Linked DNA regions of Homo sapiens: region 2 is linked to region 1. Evidence: promoter capture Hi-C in 16 types of primary human blood cells and fetal thymus (Javierre and others, 2016). All regions are on one chromosome and are shown on one strand. Each heading gives the region's core, a stretch centred on a gene start or on the middle of the fragment in contact. The rest is flanking DNA. Distances are from core to core; before and after follow the strand shown.

Region 1 (5,891 bases), core at 2,478-4,977:
GGGGAGAGCTGGGGTAGTTCTGAGATTAACCGTCCCTACTCCAAATAGGAACAAGCCCAAGGAATGGGCATGGAAAGAAATCAACTGATCCTTCCTGATCCAAGTTCTTCCTTTGAAGATGCACTGAAGGTTCTTGGAGACATTTGAAAAATCTGAACCTCTTGCCCAGAACTCTAGAGGCATTATAAATAGATAACGTACTTTCACACCTACAAGGTGTCTGCTCACATACACCATCTCATTTTATCCTCATAAGAGACTGGCAAGCCTTACAGCTGGCAGAGCTCAGTCTTGGAAGAGACATACCTCATATGTGCACGTCACTTAAGAGGCCTTTCTCCTACCACCTTTTGTCATCACACAGATGTGTGTCTCTTCCTCTCAATGGTGAAGACGAGCCAGCCTAACCAATCAATGCCTGAATCCCATCGAGTACCCCATACAGGGCCTTGTATAAGTAGGTGCTCAATAAATTTTGTAGATGGATGAATAAATGCCAGTGACCAGATCAGGGAGAAGTAAAACAGGGTCTCCTACTGGAGAAAATAGTGTTGCTGTTGTTCTAAGGGAGCAAGCTCAGGCATCTGTTCCTACAGCCTGGTACATTCACTCTGAGGCAGGCACCTGACATCATTTTAATATTTATTATGTTATCATTATCATAACTGTCACTTATTGTCCACCATTCAAAGTTAAGTTCTTTGCAAATATCAACTCATTGTTTCTCACATCCACTGTTATGAGCTCCATTTAACAGATGAGGAAATGGAGGCACAGACAGGTTAAGTAATGTGCCCAAGGTTATTTAGCCAAAAATAGTGGAGCTGGGATTCAAACCTGATTGTTTATATCCTGGAATTACAATTTTCTTGTTTTGCTTTTTGAGACAGAGTTTCGCTCTTGTCGCCCAGGCTGGAGTGCAATGGCCCGGTCTCGGCTCACTGCAACCTCTGCCTCCCAGGTTCAAGTGATTCTCCTGCCTCAGCCTCCCCAGTAGCTGGGATTACAGGCGCACGCCATTACACCTGGCTAATTTTTGTGTTTTTAGTAGAGACGAGGTATCGCCATGTTAGCCAGGCTGGTCTCGAACTCCTGACCTCAGGTAATCCGCCTGCCTTGGCCTCCCAGAGTGCTGGGATTATAGGCATGAGCCACCATGCCAGGCCTCGGACTTAGAATTTTCTTTTCTTTTTTTCTTTGAGCGGAGTCTTGCTCTGTCCCCCAGGCTGGAGTGCAATGGCGTGATCTTGGCTCACTGCAACCTCTGCCTCCTGGGTTCAAGCGATTCTCCTGCCTCAGCCTCCTGACTAGCTGAGATTACAGGCACCCACCACCATGCCCGGCTAATTTTTGTATTTTTAGTAGAGACGAGGTTTCACCATATTGGTCAGGCTGGTCTCGAACTCCTGATCTCAGGTGATCCGCCTGCCTCGGCCTCCCAAAGTGCTGGGATTACACGCGTGAGCCACTGCGCCCGGCGACTTACAATATTCTAAGTTCCTCCACTTCCCTCAGCTTAGCCTCACAATGGTCCTGGCAAGCAGATAGGAGTTTCCGCCGACCACCCAAGGCCATAACTGCACATGGGGGCAGATGTGGAACTAGAACCCAGGTCTCCCTGGGGCTTGTTCTGACACACAAAGGTCTGCATTGTGAAAGGACATGAAAGGCACACCAGTGGGCTGCCCCACTGTGTGGGGACTTAGGACCCAGCTATATCCATGACTGTTAATTCACCTCGGGATGCAGCGTTCCTGTAAGAAAAGAAAAGGAGAGCTACGATACGTGGACAGAGGCTTTTGCTCCAGTTTCCATAGACACTGCCCCGTTTGCTCATGCTGTTCCCTCTTGTTAGAACATCTTCATCCCACGCTCTTACTTCTCGCTGACTCATCATGTTTCACAATACACTTGGATTTTTCTCTCTTCCGGGAAACCTCTGCCCCTCCCTGAAGAGGGATAAAGTGACCCTCCTCATACTCCCAGAGTACCAGGTGATTCTCTATAGCATTATCATTAAAAATCAGGGGCTGCATTCTCTCCCTCTGTCCCAGTAGTCTGGGAACTAACTCCTCAGGAGCAGGGACTCCCCTTTCTCATCCTGGTGTTTCCTATTGGCAATGCCTGCCACTCAGTAGTAGGCGCTTGTTGACTGAGACTATTGATCACAGGCAGGTTCGAATGTCTTTGTTCCCTCATCTCTACCCCTGTTAAGGGATTACGGAGTGTCCTATTCATTTCGGGCATATAGAAAATGCTGTTAAAGTTCATTGAATTGAATGAAACAATTAATCGTTCTGCAAAATCTGAGCAGAGAAGTCATTTGGTTTCAAAATACTTGGATAAAAACATTACGGTGGCTCACGCCTGTAATTCCAACACTTTGGGAGGCCGAGGCGGGTGGATTACTTGAAACCAGGAGCTCGAGACCCTGACTCTACTAAAAATACAAAAATGAGCCGGTCGTGGTGGCGCGCGCCTGTAAATCTCAGCTACTCAGGAGGCTGAGGCACGAGAACAGCTTGAACCGGGAGGCGGAGGTTGCAGTGAGCCGATATCGCCACTGAACTCCAGTCAGGGCGACAGTGAAACTCTGTCAGAAAAACAAGAAACAAAAAAACTGTGAGGTACTGAGATCACAAACTGGTGCTCAAAATATACTGATTTCCTTTCTCGTCTGGACTAAACGGGGGTAGGGAAGGGTGAGAAGGAGGGGATCGGCCCTCCCAACAAGTCTCATCTTCCCCAGATGCTGCTTGGTGCTCAGGGGCTGCAAGTACTCTGTCCTTGCACAGAGGGTTGGGGACTCCAGCTGTGCATGGGGGCACACATTAGGCCCACAGCTTGTAATGGACCAGTAGTAAAGTAAGGGAGGGGAAGCAGACTCTCTCTTGGAAAGGAGGCTCCTGAGTCCTTCTTGGGGCTTCCCCCACCAACTGTTTCCCAAACCAGCATACAGTAGGCACTTAGTAAATACTAAACCTAGTAAAGGACTGAATGATGGTAGACCGAACCCCCAAAGCAAAAGAGAAAGGGTCCAACAGCGCCTCCTTGCGGTGCTCTGCCCCAAGCCACGGGGAGAAACGTTGCAGCCCGCGCCGAACGCCGGGCAGCACAAAGGATCCCCGACTGCCGGGGAGCGGTGCTCGGAGGGCACAGGTCTACGCCATCCCCCACGCAGTTTCGGAGATGGAGCGCTGGGCCCATGGAGGGAAGGCGGCAGGCTCGGCGGCTCCGGCAGCTTGCTGGGGCAGGGGCTCAAGGCGGCAGTCCGATAGTGGAGGCCGCTGAGAACTGTCACGGAGCTGCGTCTGTACAGCGAGCATCCCTTATTTATTCAGGGCGAGTGTGTATTTGGGGCGGCGTGCAGGGGGCTGACAAAGACCGGAGAGCTCCCGGTGCGGCCGCCGGCGGAGCGAAGACTGGAACCCGTATGAGCGCCCCCCAGCGCCCCTGAGCGCTCGCCGCCGGTGCACGGCGCACCCCGCGGGAGGCAGGGATCAGCAAAGCCGTGCGCCCCGAGGCCCGCCCCCGTCTCCGCACAAAGACCGTGAGTCCCGGGTCCGAGCCTTCCGCGCGGGGATCGGGCGGTTGTCCGGCGGGTCGTCCTTCGACGGCCTCCTGGCCTCGCCGGAGCGGGTGCGGGGAGGCCCACGCAGCGACGGCTGGAGGAGGGGTGGGCGGGGCTGCCGGGGGTGGGGTCCCCGGGGCGGGGCGGGGCGCGCTGTGTCGCGGGTCGGAGCTCGGTCCTGCTGGAGGCCACGGGTGCCACACACTCGGTCCCGACATGATGGCGAGCATGCGAGTGGTGAAGGTAACCGCGTATAGGATGACCCCTTTCTCTTGGCTCCCCTCGCCTCCCGCATTCCCTCCTCCCTCCATCCCCTCCGCGGCTCTCCGAGCACATTTATTTATTTGTCTGGGCACCAGGGCTGGCTGAATCCCTGTCCTCCCCGCCCTCTACTCAGAGGAGGACTGGCCTGCAAGAGTGGCCAGAGCTGGGGTTTTGGGGGTTTGGAGGCCTCTGCTTGAGCCGTTCGCGTGGTGAAGATGAGCCGGCTCCCCCAAAACTGGTTTCAATTTCGCTTTTCCTGCCTGAAACTTGTGATAACAACTGGGTGCATCTCCAGTGCAGGAAAAGTCCTTGGCATCTTGGTGCCAGGCATTCTGCTACTGCTGGTGGTGGGTTATGAACACAGATGACCAGGATGAAGTCCTTGCCTTGGAATAAGCCCATAGCCCATCCCATAATTTGATGCCTGTATTACTAGAGTCCTGAGAAACACGGAATGCTGATTAGAATTTGGGACAAAGTTCCCTGAGTATTCTCTGGAGGAAAAGATGCGGAGGTGGACCTGGAAGGCCTCCTGGAGTAGGTGGCTTGCGTTCGTGAGTTCTACAAGTGTTGAATGCCTACATGTGCTGGCCCTGTTCTAGGAGGGGGGGGGGGGCGGGCAGAGATGAACACAAATCCGGCCCTTGTTGAATTTTGTTCCTATCAGGGACACAATTTGAAATAAGATCTGGAAGGATGGGGAGGGGGCAGTTTCCTCCAGAAGGTGGGAAAACCCAGGGTGTTTGGAGATGGATTAGGGAGGAAGGTGATCCTGGTGAAGTGAGTCTGGCACCCCAAGTCTTTCAGAAGTGCCCCTTCCAGTCTGCAGGGTGGAGGGGCAGGCTCTAGGAAGAGGGTGCCTGCTACCCTCAGCCTCTGAGAAGAAAATGGCCTCAGACTGGGATGCCCAGAGCAGGCTTGGCCTAGATACTAAATCTGGAGGTTGGCAGCAAAATGAGGCAGAGGGTCTTTCCAGCCAAGTGGAAGAGAGATGGGAGCCAGAATTTATTGCATTGGAACCATTACATGCCAAACGGTTTACATGGTTATTTCATCTAATTCGCACAGCAGTTCTGTGAGATAAGTAATATATACCCGCATTTTACAAATGAGGAAATTGAGGCACAGAGGAAATAACTTGCTTGTCCAGAGTCTTTCAGTAAGGAGCAATGGGACTGGAATATGAAACCAGGTCCACAGGCCTCCAGCCTGCAGGCTCTCTTAATGGCCTTTCTACTTTCATTTTCTGTTCCTCTGAGTCAGGTGATTTCCTAGTAGGCAGTAGGAAAGAACTGTGTGTTTTAGGTTGGGTTTCAACTTCCTCAGGCTTTGGGAAAGTTCTGGCAGAACTCATCCTAAACAGATAAAGTTCAAGTGTCTTTATCTTTCCAAGACCTGGAAAATGTCTATTCCAGATCTTCTCCGGTCAGCCCTGGGCTTTGTTCTTGCCAAAGAGTCACAGATGATAGAGAAACTCTTACAAGTGCAGATGCTTCTAGTTTGGGGTAAAGATAAATGAAGGGCCATTGACCCTGGGTGGAAGGCACCAGAAGCAGCTTATTGGTTGAACAGAAATAGAACATAGGCTGAGGGATAGGAGGGGGGCATGGGATGTGTTTATATTATATGTTGGGGGTGGGGGTAAGGCAGAGAAAGTTCAAATGGTCCACAGTGTTAAAGGACCCCTCCCCACTTGTGGACTGGGTTTGGAGAGCTTCAGTTTCTCAACCTCATCACTACTGACATTTTGGGTCACATAACTGTTATGTATCCATTGTATGTTTTTAGATTTGAGGTTACTACAAGGTTTGTAAATAATATCTTATAACCTGTTATTTTAAACTGATGACAAGTTAACACTGATTACATAAACAAACAAGCAAAATGAAAACTAATGAAGGCCAGGCGTGGTGTCCCACTCCTGTAATATCAGCACTTTGGGAGGCTGAGGTTCGCGGACTGCTTGAGCCTAGGAGTTCGAGACCAGCCTGGGTAACACAGCCAAACCCCATCTCTACAAAAAGTACCAAAATTAGCCGGGCATGGTAGCACACTG
Region 2 (5,891 bases), core at 755-3,254, 930 kb before region 1:
TATTTTAGAAAGTGATATAACTAAATTTCTGTTATAAACTTTTCTGTATATGTTACATTTCACACTTCAAATGTTTAGAAACAGACCCAACAGAGCTCCTATATTCAATAAGTTTATTTAAAAAAAACTAAAGGGGAGATAAGACCTATACATAAGTAACTTTAATTCTGTGTAGAAAATAATAAAAACCAACAAGAGATACATATAAAATGCTATAGTAATAGTTGAAGGGTAGATTCTAGGGTGGGGAATTGAGGAAGATAACTTTGCTCTGGACAAGAAAGAGAGATACAGTAAAATAGAAATTATTCAGATATATTTCACAAATAGTGTCTGTTTGGCTGAAGTGTAATATCTGTGGAGAGAAGTAATGGAAAATAAGTTTGGAATGATACACTGGTGCCCAACAGTAGGGATATTATCTTTCAAATTGAGGTTTTCAAATTTAAGCTATAGATTCAAACTTCAATAAAGAAGTTCTGGACATCATGCACATAGACGTCGGAGATAAGGCAGAATCTCAACTGCTGTAGAAGAATATTTAAAACAGCTTTCCTTATGCACCTATGTTAAAGTAAAGCACTTGTTTGCTTCAGAGGAAATTTTCAGCATTTTATGTATGAGCACATATCCACCTAAAACATTATTTGAGCACCTGCTCTAGCAAATATTGGTATTCTGTGTATCCAGAATCCATTTTCCTGCTTAAAATATCGTGACTTTCTTGGAGAATGATCTCTTTCTTGGAGAATAGATTGGTGGGAGAAGAGTGTCTAGTTCCTGTACCCTCTCCACCCACAAGTCTATGGAAGCTGAGGCAAGGATAACCTTTCCTTCCCTGCCCCCTAAGGAAGAGAAATCTATACAGAGAGATTCATGGAGGTATATAGAGAGGCAGGCATGAGTCCTAAGCTCAGCCAACAAAAAGTTCTCACTCCCCTAAATTTGAATCTGCAAGGGATGGAAAGAAGCATCAAGGCTTGGAGCTCATTTGCTATAGCAGGGAAATGTTGGTGGGGCCATTCCAGACATGACATGGTTCTTTGCTTCCGACTTCTGTTCCTTAGCCCTCTGAAGTGCTCCTGGTTCCTGCATTTTGCCCAGTTTCCTTTTGATTCTGCAAACCTCTTGATATCCTTTCAATTACCTCTTTTGTTTCCCTTCAAGTTAGCCTGAACTGGTGTCTATAATGAAACATAACTGATACCTCTAGCTTGTGAGAGATACTCTTCCATGGACAGTAGAGTGAACAAGAGAGAAGTCACTGACCTCACAAAATTATAAATGTTAAAGAGTATGGGGAATAAAGCACCCTCAATAATAAAAGAGAGGTCCACAACATTTCAATAAAAACCAAAAAGTGTTATAAAAAATTATCAGGAAATGAATAATGCAGAGGAAACACTGCCACAAAATTTAACTTAGCAGAAAATGAAGCAACTACCAAGGCATCCATTTTTAATTATTTTTGTTCTTGCTAACAATAGTAATAAACATCTGGAATTATTGGTACATAGGATGAAAGAGATCTTAGGGCTGTTTTTGTTCCCCTGTTGCATGTTACTGACTAGGAAGTTGAGGCCTGGGGAGGAGAAGTGGTCTCTGAATTCTCACATCCAGGAAGTGACAGAGTGAGACTTTGTGCAGTATTCTAACTCTGCATACCACCTCACACACCACAGCTGCTCTGGCTGGCGGCCACAACCCCTTTTGTGTGTATGAGCACACATTTAGTTTGCTTAATGTTTTTGATAGAGTCAGAAACATTTTTCTTACAAACACGTTTGTCCTTATAAACACATTACTGATTTTCTGTTCAGATAATGGTCACTTTTTATCTGAATAATGTATGAGCCTGGCTAAAGCTGGACAACGTTGTGTCCAGGAGCCAGTATGCTGACTTTCAAGTTAATTGCAACAACCACTTCTTTTTAGGTCCCTCGTTGGCTGCTCGTCAGATTTCTCTCTTCAATTCCAAGCGCATCTTATGTAAACAATAGTGTCTATGATAGTGGATGTGATTGTGTGCTACCTGGATCTCCTAGCTGAAATCCTTCGAAGAATTTCCTTCAGTCAATGGGAGCCACCTCCCCTGAGGTTATGGCTCCAGGTGAAGATTAAACAGCTGTAGAAGTGTCATCCAAGATTGGCCAGTGAGTAGTATGAAGGCCTGCCCCTGCTTGTCCTGTTTCCTTGACACAGCTCCCAAGAGCCATCTCAGCTCCCAAGCACCCTAAAGGATTGGCTGAGGCCTTTATTGAGACTGCATTGCAGCACAATTTCTCCCTCTCTCTAATTCTGCTGCCATCTCTCCCTTACAGATGCTGTTCCTGAGAGTCCTTCCTGGAGAGCCATCTGCACACAGATCTCAGTCTCAGAGTCTATTTCCCAATGAATCTAATCTGAGAGATCTCTTCATTTGCTGTTTTTTCCCTGTATGAAATAGTTACTTTGTTTTACTTTATTTTATTAAGTTCAGTGGTACATGTGCAGGTGTGTTATATAGGTAAATTGTGTGTCATGGGGGTTTGGTGTACAAATTATTTCGTCACCCAGGTAATAAGCATAGTACCTGATAAGTAGTTTTTCAGCCCTCTTCCTCCTTCTCACCCTTCACCCTCAAGTAGGCCCTGGTGTCTTTTGTTCCATTCTTTGTGTTCAAATGTTTAGCTCTCACAAGTGAGAACATGTGATATTTGGTTTTCTGTTCCTGTGTTAGTTCACTCAGGATAATGGCCCCCAGCTCCATCCATGTTGCTGCAAAGAACATGATCTTGTTTCTTTTTATGATTGCATATTATCCCATAGGTTATATGTGTCACATTTTCTTTATCCAGTCTACTGTTGATAGGCATTTAGGTTGATTCCATGTCTTTGCTCTTGTGAATAGTGCTGCAATGAACATATGCGTATATGTGTCTTTATGACAGATCTATTTATATTCCTCCTGGCATATCCCCAGTAATAGGATTGCTGGGTCAAATAAGAATTCTGTTTTAAGTTATTTGAGAAATTGCCACACTGTTTTCCACAATTGCTGAACTAATTTATGTTCCCCCCAACAGTGTATAAGCATTCTCTTTTCTCTGCAACCTCACAAGCATCTGTTATTTTTTGACTTTTTAGTAATAGCCATTCTGACTGGTGTGAGATGGTATCTCATTGTGGTTTTGATTTTCATTTCTCTAATGATCAGTGATTTTAAGCATCTTTCATATGCTTGTTCACTGTATGTTTTCTTTTGAAAACTGTTTGTGTCTTTTGCCCACTTTTTAATGGAGGCTGTTTGTTTTTTGCTTGTTAATTTGAGTCCCTTATAGATTCTGGATATTAGACCTTTGTTGGATGCATAGTTTGCAAATATTTTCTCCCATTCTGTAAGTTGCCCTTTTTACTCTATTTGTTTCTTTTGCTGTCCTCATCCACTCTTAATTCTATGATAATTTCTGATGGCCAAATAATGTTTTACCTTCTTTAAGATTGCTATTTGTGTTGCTAAGAACATCAGAGATAAGATCCTAAATCTTTAGACTTGTTTCTTGAAGTAAGCAGAAAACAGTGGCTAGTGTGCACAAAATTCACATTTCCTAGAGATGTAAAGAGCCTTAGAAGCTGTCCCCTCCTCAAATACTTCCTGATGGTTTTGTGTGTGCTGTGAGCTCTGGTGGGCATTTTCACCTTTGTTGTTTCTCATAATTACCCTGTTAACATTTAGGTTATTATCCTAGTTTTATAGTTGATAAAACCAAGGCCCAAATATGTGAAGTGACTTATCAAGGATTAAACAGATGAAGAAGTGTCATCATTTTCTACTAAATGATAACCTGTGATTTATGAATCAGATTTCCCATTTTATAGATGGTAAAACTAAGGCTCAGATACAGATGCTAAGTGATAGAACCAGGATACCGATTCACTCTTTTGCTGGCCTACAAACCCTTTATACTCTATTCTTACCTCCCCATCATGTTCTACCTTTTTTCAGATGAGAAAACTAAGGCAAAAAAAAAAAAAGAAATCTCAAATGTTTTTTCCCATGTCATATAGATAGACTGGTGGTGTTGAGTCTAGGCTCCAGATTTTCTATCTCCCACTCCACACCACCACCTAGCTGTCCTGCTCAGCATGCTCAGAATCTGTAGGACTCCAGCTGCCTTTTCCAAACCTGGTCGGTGCAATGGCATTCTCACTTTGACTGCAAAACTCCTCACCAAATATAAAACTGAAAATGTAGGCCACCTGTCCATGTGATTGTATTTCATAACTTAGAGCTAAAAATAGCTCTCAGCTTGCTTGGCCTGTATATAACATATTAAAAGCTCAAATTCAAATTCACTCGCATCTTGGATTAATGTTAAGATTATGGCTTTCCAGACTTCTTTCTCTCACATTCTATCTCACCCAGCAGGGAATGGATTGTGCTTGTCCACATTATTTTCTATGTGAATTACTGAGCTCTTATTTTCAAAGATGAATTTCGTGACCTTATGCTCTTTGCTGTACCTGCAGAATTCATTTTGGAGGGCACAGACTCTAGAACCAGACAGCAGGGTAAGGCTGGGTATCTGTGGCCAAGGCATGAAAATTTTGCCTTGATTTCTTCATCTGTGAAATGGAGACGAAATCATACATATTTCCTGAGGCTGTTTTGAGAAGTAAACACACTAATTCATGGCTAGTGTTTAGCTAAAATCTGGACACACACACAGAGTGGACAAATATGATAATTAAAAGCAAAAATCAACAAAATAAAAAATCACCACCGCATAGCATGACCAATTTGTCCTAGTTTGCCTGGAACAATCTGTTTTCTCACTGAAAGCCCCAAATCTCAGAAAATTTCTTAATTCTGGGCAAATTGGAACGGTTGTTTACTCTATTCACCACCAATGAAACAAACAAAAGGTTCTGAGTAATTCATTTATTCAAGAAGTGTTTATTTATAACTAATAAATTCTAGACAGTGTGATGGTATTTTAAAGGTAAACATGACAAAAATGTATCCTCATGGAACACTCAAGCTAATGAGAGAGAATTATGAAAATGGGAAAATTGTATATGTGCTGTCCTGAAAACTGGCATGAAATGGACAAAGAGTGTAATTCTGAGATGCATTGTATTCAGTGGGACACAATCCAGGAATTTCATGGATTACACACTTCTGTCTAATGCTACTTTTTTTTTTCCCCAAGCAAAATGCTATGGGGAGTTAACAGGGTTACATATGAAAAAGCTTTCCATAAGCAGGTAAGTTAAACAGCTTGCTGTTACATTACTACAGTACTTCTCAGCATCTTTAATAGCCTACTGAACACTTAAATCTCAGATGGGGATGTTTTAAGTATTATTTCTGAACTTTTAGACTTTTCAACAACATAGAATTTTTTTAAAACTCATGTGATGGTACCAATATTCCGTAGGGCTTTGACAGAAGGAAAATCTAAGTGGTATTAGGCATTGAACACAGAAAGCTCAAAGTAGGAAGAAAAGTGCCAAACCCCAACTCCTCATAAATAGAGACAGAAGTCATGCTTCAGTCATCAGAGCCAGAGCTGTGGTTCTTAACCGTTTTTCTTTTGGTTCATGAGCCTTGTTTCAGAATTTAATGAGCACATGGATGCATAGAGGATAAGAAGCTTCAATCAAGAGCCTTGAAATTCACAGAGCATGCTGAAGAGATGCTAAGTCTTCTTAGGAATTGAAAAATCTTCTCTAAGTGAATTTTGATCCTTCCTATCAGCAGAGATGGAAAGAACCTGCAGACTGAAATAAATACTAACACAAGAAAGAAATTCCACGTGTGGACTAGCATGGGATAATAGTGTAGAATGCATAGAAGCAGGACTTAGATGAAATATAGTAGTCACTTTCATATATGGAGTGCTTACTAT

Evidence for each region. Contacts are between HindIII fragments. The CHiCAGO score rates a contact against its expected background, and 5 or more counts as called.
Region 2: a fragment that was not itself captured here is called in contact with the fragment with the promoter of UBE2L6 in region 1 in 1 of 17 cell types (naive CD8 T cells); the score reaches 6.5 in naive CD8 T cells.

Annotation. Positions count from the first base shown.
Region 1 is chr11:57,565,508-57,571,398 of GRCh38, reverse strand. It overlaps UBE2L6 (ubiquitin conjugating enzyme E2 L6), which reads left to right and starts at 3,727. Exons shown (of 4, transcript NM_004223.5): 1 at 3,727-3,814. The coding sequence starts at 3,788. RefSeq lists a silencer at 3,364-3,723 and an enhancer at 4,977-5,326. The HindIII fragment of the contact is 19,025 bases long and covers 1-5,891 here.
Region 2 is chr11:58,494,435-58,500,325 of GRCh38, reverse strand. LOC105369313 (a long non-coding RNA gene) reads left to right here. Exons shown (of 5, transcript XR_007062673.1): 4 at 1,936-2,153; 5 at 2,322-5,891. Among named protein-coding and RNA genes, the nearest start is that of OR5B21, 11 kb to the left of the region's middle. The HindIII fragment of the contact is 6,463 bases long and covers 1-5,235 here.